Regions from separate parts of the Homo sapiens genome. Here region 1 is linked to region 2. Evidence: promoter capture Hi-C in human tissues and cell types (Jung and others, 2019). All regions are on one chromosome and are shown on one strand. Each heading gives the region's core, a stretch centred on a gene start or on the middle of the fragment in contact. The rest is flanking DNA. Distances are from core to core; before and after follow the strand shown. Region 1 has its middle 16 kb from the start of CST4. Region 2 holds the start of CST2 (cystatin SA).

What was found. Contacts are between HindIII fragments. The study calls those that stand out against the background at their distance.
Region 1: a contact is called between a fragment that was not itself captured here and the fragment with the promoter of CST2 in region 2, in 4 of the 25 tissues and cell types used here (dorsolateral prefrontal cortex, liver, mesendoderm cells and 1 more).

What each region holds. Positions count from the first base shown.
Region 1 is chr20:23,702,671-23,708,016 of GRCh38, forward strand. No RefSeq gene overlaps it. Among named protein-coding and RNA genes, the nearest start is that of CST4, 16 kb to the left of the region's middle. The HindIII fragment of the contact is 5,877 bases long and covers 1-5,346 here.
Region 2 is chr20:23,825,479-23,831,364 of GRCh38, forward strand. It overlaps CST2 (cystatin SA), which reads right to left and starts at 1,251. Exons shown (of 3, transcript NM_001322.3): 1 at 955-1,251. The coding sequence starts at 1,182. The HindIII fragment of the contact is 9,318 bases long and covers 1-3,727 here.

The sequences.
Region 1 (5,346 bases), core at 1,383-3,882, 120 kb before region 2:
GAAATTTGTTACCAGTAGACCAGGCTTACAAGAGATTCTTAAGGAAGTACTACACATGAAAACAAAAGAAAGATCCAGCTAACATAAAAACAAACAAGTACATAGTCCACAGACTTTGTAAAGCAACTATGCAATAGAAACTACAAAGCAACCAGCTAATAACTTCATGAGAGGAGCAAAATTTCATTTATTTCTTAAATGACCATATGTAGTCATAGTTATAATTCTTCCCATTGTACAGATAAGTTAACTGAGTCTCCTAGAGATGACATCCCTAGCTCTCTCATTAAGGGTTCCATCTATCAGTTTCTGCTTTACCAGTGAGACTTCATTCTCTCAGCTACTGGGAGTGTGGCCACTGATGGCTCACAGCTGAGTCCTTCTGTGGGCATTGATCTGAGTCAAAGGGAGCTGCTTTGTCCAAGTTCATGTCCCTCCTGGAATTGCCTATTTTAAATAATAGGTCTATAAGGGAGTACAAAATGTTGACTCTTTTGCCCTAATATGCTACCACTCTGAGGCCATCCCCATTGCAGAGATCTCCATGGGCCTGACTTTGGCCTCTGCTGACCTGCACCCCTGCCTGACTTTTCCCTCTGCCCCACCTCATGCCCCTCTGCTGAGCTGCACCCCTGCCTGACTTCTTCCTCTGCCCCACCCCATTCCCCTGCCTCCCTAGCACATGCCTCAGTGAGCCTCTTGCCCTTGAATTTCCATCTGAGTCTGTTTCCAGGAACCCTAACCAAGAGATGGTGGAGTCAGGACCCACACCACAAATATCCTGCCTTTTAAACTACAGTGGGTGTTAGATCTGTGAATGTTTGGAGGATGGGGCAATTCTTGTCTGGGAGACTGGATGTCTCTTTTCCCAGGATTCAAGGGGTAGGATGCTCCAAATGTATTTAGACCTGAGACCTATTTGGAAAAATGGTGTTTTATCTGGAAAGTTCCCTGTTCTTGAAAATCTCTTACTCAGCTAGTACTATTTTTCCCTCTTTACTCCTTAGTAAAATGAAAACCAAAGCTTCCATTTGTATTGGACTTGGTGAAATATTTCACTTACCAAATTTCTTTGGATCCACCTGATGGGGAAGGCTAGGCAGGTAACATAAACCCCTTGTAATTTTGTGGAAATATGTAGAAGGGAATTTGGGGACAATAAGGCAGGTCATGTAATTTTCAGATAAATTTTGTTCGCATTGCACAATAAGCTTCATTTGCCACCCTGGCTCTGGGACTGGCACTTAGTGGTGTGTCAGCTCCATCATTTGTAGAAGTGTCCTGGCTGCAGATAGCAGGAGTCCTGAGAAACACTGGCTGCCTCTCCCATGATGACACTGGTGATTCACCAAAGGCCATGGGGGTGGTGTTCACAGAGTAGGTGCAGGGTCCTTAGCAGGGGCCCAGGTGGTTTCCTTCCATCTTCTCCATCATTCATTGGGCTCTTGTTGTTGGGAACATGGCTCATAAGTGAAAGGCAGACACCATAGTTGGAGACGTTCTGTCCCACACTACTGCCTGAAACGTGAGGAGTAGGAGCAGGAGGAGGTCACAGGGGGTGAGAAGAGGGTGTGGACAGTGAGTGGGAGAGAGAGTGTGTGTGTGTGTGTGTGAGAGAGAGAGAGAGAGAGAGAGAGAGAGAGAGAGAGAGAGAGAGGATTCATTCCGAGGACCCTGTCTTTTCTATTCAGTACAGGCTTTTCTTTTCTTTCCTTTTTCTTTTTCTTTTTTCTTTTTTCTTTTTTTTGTAATGACCTGGCTGCCTTCTTAGATGTTACTGCCTGGACTTGGGTCCTATGCCCCGGGGGGTGAGGAAGGCCAGGAAGTTTATTGCCTGGTGCTTTCAGACTTTCCACTCAGGGGAAGGGAAAGGGAGTAGGGACTGGCTGGTGAGGTTTTCAGAACAAAGTTTCTTAATATGAGAGTCCACAAAGAGTTTGTAGAAACTCCATTGTACTCCAAAGATTACAAGCGTGTTTGTGCAGGAGTGTGCATACACATACCTACACACCATTTCTACAATACTCATCTGACTCCTAATGAGATCAGTGACTATTACACTATTCTAATGTTGAAGTATGGATGCTGAGTTGTAAATGCAATGCCATGAGTTTGCACTGAAATTAAATGCAGACTCACTTCTTGAGCTTTACATATCCATTACTTTCAACTGAACTGGGCATCAGGCTATCTCCTCTTTACATTCAATGAAAGTAGAATACAGGAGAATGAAAGAGGATGAAATGGAGCACTCTAAAGCCAAGCCAGAGCCCACCTGCTAATTGCAGTCACTGAGTCCACAGCAGTGATGATTTCTCTGGTGGTGAAGGCTTTGTAGGGAATGTGACCTAAGATATCCTCTCTTCCCCAGGAACTCAGAGCATGTATCTGAAGACATTCAGTGCCACAAAAAACAAGCAAACACTTATTAAATACTAAGTGGCTTTCAGAACTCAGGGAGCATGTGAGAACAATTTTTTTCCCACTTTGGAAGGAGTTTCACTCTTTTTGCCCAGGCTACAGTGCGATGGTGTGATCATGGCTTACTGCAACCTCTGCCTTCCAGGTTCAAGCGATTCTCCTGCCTCAGCCTCCCAAGTAGCTGGGATTACAGGCATACACCACCATGCCCAGCTAATTTTGTACGTTTAGTAGAGATGGAGTTTTACTATGTTGGCCAAGCTGGTCTTGAACTTTCGACCTCAAATCATCCACCCGCCTTGGTCTCCCAAAGTTCTGGGATTATATTCATGAGCCACTGTACCCAGCTGTGAGAACACCCTATGCTGAAAATAAACTGCCGATTAACTCATAGTTGATAAGCTGTGAGGCATATGTGGGCATATCAACCACACCAATAGGTCATTCAGCCATAGTATTTGTTAGTTTTAGTTTTAAAAATAGAGACATAGGGAGGATCCAAGGGGAAATAACCTATAATCTCATCACCCAAACACTCCTAACTGACACTAAAAAAAATGTATAAAGAACACACACACATTTTTGTAATGTTCAAATGGAAAATAAAGATCCTAAATATAAAAAAAAGCAAAAGCCAAATTATCCATCTCCCTACCCACTCTACCACCTCTCTTCCGTGGTATCCACTGTTAATAAATACAAATGACTGACTGCCTGTCTCCTTTCCTATATTTTAGGCTTTTATGTGTATATCCACATGTGTAAATATGTGTCTAAATGTCTATACACTCATACACATGCGTGTTTACTTTTGTTTTTACAAGCTTTATATTAACACACCACATATACCTTGCTTTCAATAAAATAATATATTCAAGATATATTAAAATTATTTCCAGTTTAACACATATGTTGCTATCTAATTCTTAACCGCTCTTCCATCATGTGTGTGCTCTATAATTTATTTGAGCAGTCTCTAGTGATGACATCATTTTGATCATGTCAAAGTTTGTGCTATTACCAGGACATTGCCATGGTCATCCACAGGTTTCACTGAGTGTTGGTGACACTGTAAATGATATATTAATAGATTCTTAACATATTTTAAGTGTAGGTTTATTAACATCTATTAAATGTATGATTGGTGTAGGGGATGGGCCTGTGATCCAGACCTGGCCTATGAGGCATGAGAAGGAATGAGCTAAGGAGTGCATAGGAGGAGGTTACTCACATTCAGGAAGGACGGGTGGAACAGAGGCTTTTCCCTAGGATCTTTCTGCCTCTGGATGTTGGTGTTGATGATGTGATGTCTGGAGCTGTAGCAAACACCTTGCTACCAGCTCGAGGCTGAAGCATCATAAACAGAAAGGTAAGGATGAGAGAATCCCAGGGAAGCAGAGCTAGATGCTGGGAGTTCTGCTCCTAAAACCTGTCTCACCCAGGGCCTTCTTATTATGACAGGTAGAGTACTCCCTTTGCATTCAAGCCATTTTTAATTGGGACCTTTCTTTACATGCAGTGGAAAGCCTCTTGCCAGCTCCCAATGCCCATGCAAGTTTATTCTGCATGAGTTTCTCCTTCCCTCACTTCTTCTCCATGTCTCCTACTTTTGTGGCTGGTGGATTTGCCTCCCTCCCATTTCCTCTGGGACCATGCACTCTTACAAAAATATTAAAGTCTTCTAATAAAAATCCAGACCTTTAGTGATGCTAATGACTTTTAAGTACAGAGCTGTTCAAAAACCCCACAAAAAGCTCCAAGTGGGCCTCAGCAACAGCTTTACTTTGCTGGATGTTTTGTACAATAAAAAAGTGTGTGGTATTTTCACTGTAGTCAGTTAAGAACATTGGCTTTTTCTACTTTGGCTTTCTTCTTCACATTCACCACCCTCCGGATGGTGTAGGTTGGACCCAGGCATTTTGATATCTGGCTAAGAGGACGTTGAGTTGGGATGCATTTAACCTGGGGTGAGGGGAACACATTCCCGCGGTTCTCAGTCACTCCTGTGCATAGTCATGTTGCCTCAAACTGTCCTGGTGTAGGAGTGGCCCCAGACAAGGCCCTACCACCCCCTCGGTTTTTACCTAAATCAGCGAGGAGAGGTAGAACCTTGATCAGAAAATGTCCCCAGCACCTCACATTGGAAGCCTGTGATTAGCAGAGAGGAAAAAAGGTTTGCAATGTGTGGAGCCAGAAGCCCATCTATGGATAATGATTCCCAGCAGAAACATGGAAAATTTCAAGTGAGTGTTTGGTTCTTTTTGACCCTAGTCAAAAAAGGAAGTTTTACTCTATTGGAAATGTATTTGGTAATATGGCATATAAAATAATTATTGCATCATGCAGTTGTTTTTATTTTTGATGGTAATTGAATGAGATAGAATTTCTCAATTTTTGACATTTGTAGAGCACAGATCTGTGTGGTGAAACTACCCATAGTAAGGACATATGTGTGTGAAGCGGCACAGAACTGATGGATGGGGCTGACCTCCCACCTCTTTTTATCCTGACCAAGTCTGGGAGCTCCACATAACACAGATATAAAATTGTGACCAGCAGTAAGGCAGCTCAAAGAAATGCTTGCTTCAGGACAAACTCCTCCTGCACAGTCAATGAGCTAATAGATATAGCACATAAGGACATTTTTAGACAATTCTGAAGCTCAGTACAACAGTGACAGTTTAAAAATGCTGTGTTTGTGTCCATCGTCAACAGAAAGATTTGATAAGGTCCTCAGTTTTAAAACAAGACAATTTAGAGGTATTAAAATCTTAGAGCTTGCAGATGAAAGGAAAATGAAAGAGGCTTTTCCAAACTGGACAACAACCAGAAAAATGTGCATGATATGGCCAATTATGAGTTTTGAATCAAGATGTTATGCACTATCAATTTTACAAGTGATCAAACCTTTTAGTGGAAAGACTG
Region 2 (5,886 bases), core at 1-2,500:
CTGGCAGGGTGCTGGGCCTCATGCCCCCTCTTAAATATTGTTTTCTCTGTGCTGGGTAAAAGGATTCATTGAATTCTGCCACCTGTGGCTCAGGGGCAAGGGAACACTGACTCTTTTTACCCATGGGTGTCAGTTTACCCATGTATAAAATAGGCGTCCGGGCCTGATGGTCTGCAATGCCCTGTGCTTCACTCCAAGTTATTGTCATGCTTGAAAGGGAGGTGGAGGCAAGCGGGGACCATGGCACCAGGGAGTGCACCTCCCGTGCAGGGTGAGGGTCCCAGTTGACAGCTGCAGGAGGAGAAATGGGGCTGGTCTGGATTCCTTTGAATTTCCAAGAGAAGGTGGAGGAGCTCTAAAGCCTGTGTCACTATTTGCTGCTCTGCCATGGGATGCAGGTAAAGCTGGGCCCAATAGCCCTTCTGAAGCTCTCTCTTGACCTGACACCTCCTCCTCTCTACTGGGTAACTGCTGTCCTCATCTGGCTGAGGTCTAACTCTGCATCAACTCATAGAGGCAGGGTCAGGCGTGCTCCACCCCAGCAGGGACTCAGCTGCCCTGGGCTGTAGGGGGTGGTCAGCCGGCCTGAGGGTGAAGGCCATTAGCCCTAAAGGGCTGTACCCACGGGTGTGACTTGGGGAGTGAAGTAGGGCTCTGCAGAACAGGAAGCGAAGTTCCTGTGTGGCCCCTGAGGAGAGGACTCAGGGAGGAGGGTGAGCCTCATGGCCTGGATCTCATCCTGAGCAGCATCAAGCCCATCCAGAGTCAGCATAGTCTCCATCCCCCGGGAGCATGCTTAGGCATGAAGGCCATAAGCAGAGAGTCAGGGAAAGCTGAATGAATCTGAGCATTAGATCATGAATGTATCAGTGTTGATGTGCTGCGAATGCTCTTATGGATCGGGCAACAAACAAGGCTGGGACTCAGGACCCCTCAGGTGGAGGCAGCACCCACCTGCTCCCTGGCTCGTAGCACCCGCAGCAGGCGTCTGTAGTACTCATCTTCAGTGGCCTTGTTATACTCGCTGATGACAAAGTGAAGGGCACGCTGTACCCGCTCATCATTGAGGTCTGCATCATAGATGCCACCCTCGATTATCCTGTCCTCCTCCTGGGGGCTCCAGGCCAGGGCCACAGCCTGGGTGGCCAGCAGGAGCAGCAGGGTGCACAGGGGCCAGGCCATGGTCTCCTCGGAGGCAGAGCACAGAGCTGGAGCTGCAGGAGAGGAGGTTGAGAGCCTGAGGCGGGGATCCCAGACCAGCAGGCAGCTGTGCATTTATCCTGCTTTGGCAGCTCAGCCCCACCCCCCTCCATGACCTGCCCCTGACTCCTCCTCCTCTTTCTGCTCATTCCCTCTTTCTCCATCTCTCTTTTCACTCCTCAGAAACCACAAGATCCCTCCCTGCCTAAGTTCTCCCTGCCCCTCCCAGGCCTCCTCCTCTATCTACCCCTCCTCCCCACTCCTGTCCTCACTGCAGCCTCCCCGAGCCATGCCTCTCTTCCCCAGTGCTCCCAAGCTTGAGTCACCAGGTCTCCACAGAGATGACACTTCTCCTTTGGCTATGAAAACAATGTGACCTCCTGTTTGCTCAGAAAAGTGAAAAATACAGGGCTTGGCCTCCGGGGTCTTCAGATATCAGAGGCATCCAGGAGCACTTGGTCACGGTCTCTGAATCTCTGGAACAGGGAGGTTATTTCAGAAGGTTCCAGAAGACCCTGTCCACACCCTATTATGGAGAATTTCTTTGCCAAATTCAAGGGAATTAACCTTTTTTGAAAAGGTCACTGGGTTCTCTTTTCATAACTCATTATTCAATAAAAAAACTTATCACCAGCTACTCCCCGTGCCAGGAGGTCTAGGGCTTGAATACTGAACCTGGATGATGAGCCATAGAGGTGACATTGCAGAGCTGCTGCCCACAGAGATGTGACATGAACCCACGAGCATATGAAAATGTGTAGTAGATGCATTTTAAAAGATGAGAAAAAATGGGTGAAAGTAATGTTTAAAATATTTATCTAACCTAATACAGCCACAATATTATTTCAGCTAATAGGAACTATTATTAATGAGATTTTTTTTTTGTTGGAGGGGTTTTGTAAATCTTTGAAATTCGCTGTGTATTTTTTACACTTAGCCTGGGAGTCATTTTGGACTGGCCCCATTTCAAGTGTCCCGTGGCACATGTGGCAGGTGGCTATGAAACTGTACAGTCCGTTCCTACACAGTGTGTGTAGGGGATGATAGGTTATGGTCAACAATTAGGATCAGGGAGTTATACTCACTCTGTTGGAAGTGAAATAGAACAGGGGCTAGAGAGAGACCACTGGACCCTGGTCAGGGTGGTCTCTATGAGACTGGAGAGGTTGAGAAGCCCCAGGCATTGGGGAACAGCCAGTGCAAAGGCCCTGAGGTGGGATTGGGACATGCCTGCTCCAGGAAGAGGAAGCTCCTGGAGGGGATGTGAGCAGGGAAGGGAATGACCTGGTGTCTCATGGTAACTGTGGGTGGGGCCCACAAGGTGCAGGGAGACACCTGGCAGGCAGTGGGGGTGTCAGAAGAGGGAGCAGAAGCCAAGGGATGAATGTGGGAGCCCACAGGCCTCACTTGCTTCTCTCCTAGGCAGCCATGCTTCCAGCTTCTTTCCTCTATGCACTGCTTGGAAGACCCACCTGATATTTTAAAAATTGCCTTGAAGGAGGTAGAATTTACATACAGTAAGATGCCTAATAGTATGTGCCCACCTGGAAGATTTTGTAAATACATACACCTGTATTACCACTTTGTCCAGACCTCTGACATCTGCCTTGCCCCAGACGGTGTCCTCCTGCCTCTGCAGCTCATCCTCGTGCCCACCCCACCCTGGCAGCCCCTGTCCAGTCCTGTAGACTCCTTTGTCACCTGCCCTTGAGATTCCCAGGAATGGAATCCTGCAGAGCAATCCCAGATGTGTCTTCGTCCTTTGCTCAGCGTGGCTTTCCAGTGGCCCCCAAGTTGCTTCATTGCCAGGATTGGGAGTTCTCCTTCTCCACAGACTGAGAGGACCTAATCACCACAGTGCTCTGTGGGGTGACAAAGTCTCCAGCTTGGGATGCTGTGGGCCTGTGCTGGAATGTGGCTCCAGGATTGGGGAGGATGGAAGGAGGCCCTGAACAGACAGCTGCTCCCTTTGTTCTCTCAACCCAACCCTCCATGCCTGAAGGTGACCCTGTGGCAAATGCCCTTGTGGTGAGGTGGAAGGCTTGGTGAGAAACACCAGGAAACCCTGGGCCTTTGCATGGCATCCAGAGGACTCTCCTGGGAGTAGTGGAGGTGAGGGTCAGACAGAGTCAACCCAGAGCTGCTGGGATCCTGGGTCTCAGCCGTGGCTGGGGCTGCATCAGCAGGACCCGGCAGCAGGAACAATATTACTCATTGGTGTTCATGTTCAGTATTAGGACAGGGGACCTTGTTATCCAAGGCCCAGTGACCATTGCACACCACTGTCAATCCAGCACACCTAGAAAAACCATGCATCCCAGCAGATACAGCAGGTGTCCCAGGGATGGTGTTTACCGCTGGGTGATGGAGGGAAGGTCTTCAAACAGGGCTGCGCAGGATGGCTCCTAGTTAGACAGGGAATGGGGATAAATTCCCAGAGAAGGGAGAGAGAGGGAAGTCCCTTACCAGGTGTTTGTGAGCAGAGTGGTCATCTCCAAAGGGTAGGACTTAGTTCTCCTCTGTGGCTCCCACCTTCCTGGGATAGCTGGGAGTCCAGACTCAGGAAGAGCTGCTGTGCAGAGGATAAGCTGAAGGTCAAGAAATCCTCTCATTTTTTTTTATCACTGGAAAGGAGATGCAGGTTGAAGGGGTGGCCTGCCCCTCCACACCTGTGGGTATTTCTAGTCAGGTGGGATGAGAGGCTGAGAAAAGAAATAAGACACAGAGACAAAGTATAGAGAAACAACAGTGGGCCCAGGGGACCGGCGCTCAGCATACCAAGGACCTGCACCGGCACCGGTCTGAGTTCCCTCAGTTTTTATTGATTATTATCTTCATTATTTCACCAAAAAGGAACATAGCAGGAGGGCAGGGTGATAATAAGGAGAAGGTCAGCAACAAACATGTGAGCAATAGAATCTACGTCATAATTAAGTTCAAGGGAAGGTACTATGACTGGACATGCACGTAAGCCAGATTTATGTTTCTCTCCACCCAAACATCTCAGTGGAGTAAAGAATTACAAGGCAGTATTGCTGCAAACATGTCTCGCCTCCCACCATAGGGCAGTTTTTCTCTCATCTCAGAATTGAACAAATGTACAATCGGGTTTCATACTGAGACATACAGTTCCCAGGGGCAGGCAGGAGATAGTGGCCTTCCTCTATCTCAACTGCAAGAGGCTTTCCTCTTTTACTAATCCACCTCAGCACAGACCCTTTACAGGTGTCGGGCTGGGGGACAGTCAGGTCTTTCTCATCCCACCAGGCCATATTTCAGACTATCACATGGGGAGAAACCGTGGACAATACCCTGCTTTCAAGGGCAGAGGTCCCTGCAGCCTTCCGCAGTGCATTGTGCCCCTGGTTTATTGAGACTAGAGAATGACGACGGCCTTTATCAAGTATACTGCTTGTAAACATTTTGTTAACAAGGCACATCCTGCACAGCCCTAGATCCCTTAAACCTTGATTTTATACAACACATGTTTTTGTGAGCTCCTGGTTGGGTCAAAGTGCCTGGGGCAAAGCTACAAAATTAAGAACATCTCAGCAAAGCAATTATTTAAAGTACAGGTCTTTTACAAAATGGAGTCTCTTATGTCTTCCATTTCTACATAGACACAGTAACAGTCTGATCTCTCTTTCTTTTCCCAAACAGGTAACCCAAATAGTGAGAATTTGCTGGTGGGTGGAGTGTGAGGGAGGGAGGCCAAAGTGCTGATCTGTGCCGTGTATGTGATGACACCACCAGTGGTCATCTTGTGTCAGGATGCTGGCATGCACTGCAGGGAGGGTCAGCTGTCCTGATGCAGCAACCTCTCTAATCTCAGTAGGAAAGATACCAATGTATGTTGCTTTTCTGAGGAGGTACAAGTGCGATGTCCAGTATGGAGTGATAGGAAGTGGCAGGTGGGGGTAGCTGGCCAGCTGCTCCAGATGTTTGATGACCTTAGGCAAATGTTGTGTCTGTTGTGCGTGTGGAGAAAGAGGCTACTTTTTAAAGCGTATTGTCTGGGAGTTCAGACCAGCAGAGATGAGCAGACTTTACCAGTGATGTAGCAACATGTTTGAAAATGATGGAATAGCCAGGTGAGGTGGTGCACCTGTAATCCTAGCTAATTAGGAGAGTGAGTCAGGAAGATTCCTTGAATCCAGGAGTTCAATTCCAGCCTGTGAAACACAGTGAAACCCCCATCTCAAAAAAAATGACAGAACATTTTGTTCCCTGATTTCTATAGTCCACAGTTTTAAGGACACACTAGGAGGGGGCCAGATAGCAACCATGGACTGAGGAACAAGCCTGGGGCCTCCAGCACCCATGTAACCTGGAGGAGTCTAGCTGCCCAGGAGGGGGCAAGTTTTCCTTCTGCTAGGTGATGAAAGAGAAAGCTCTGTTCCCCTAGGCTGCATGGGTGACTACTGATCCTATTATCTGAATTAGCAGGATGAGAAGTTAGGTGAGTGGTAGAAGTTCTCTGCAATAAATGATGAATAATAAGTGAACACTAAGCAATACTACAATAAACAAATGACCAAACACAGAAAGCATCACCTACAGGTGCAGGTGGTGAGGACAACCTGGCCAAGAGTTGAGATTCTGCACATCTGGGTTTTGAGCAACTAACACTTTGATCTATGGTAGGAGCTGAGACTGAACAGCCACAGGATTTGGTGGCTTCTCAAA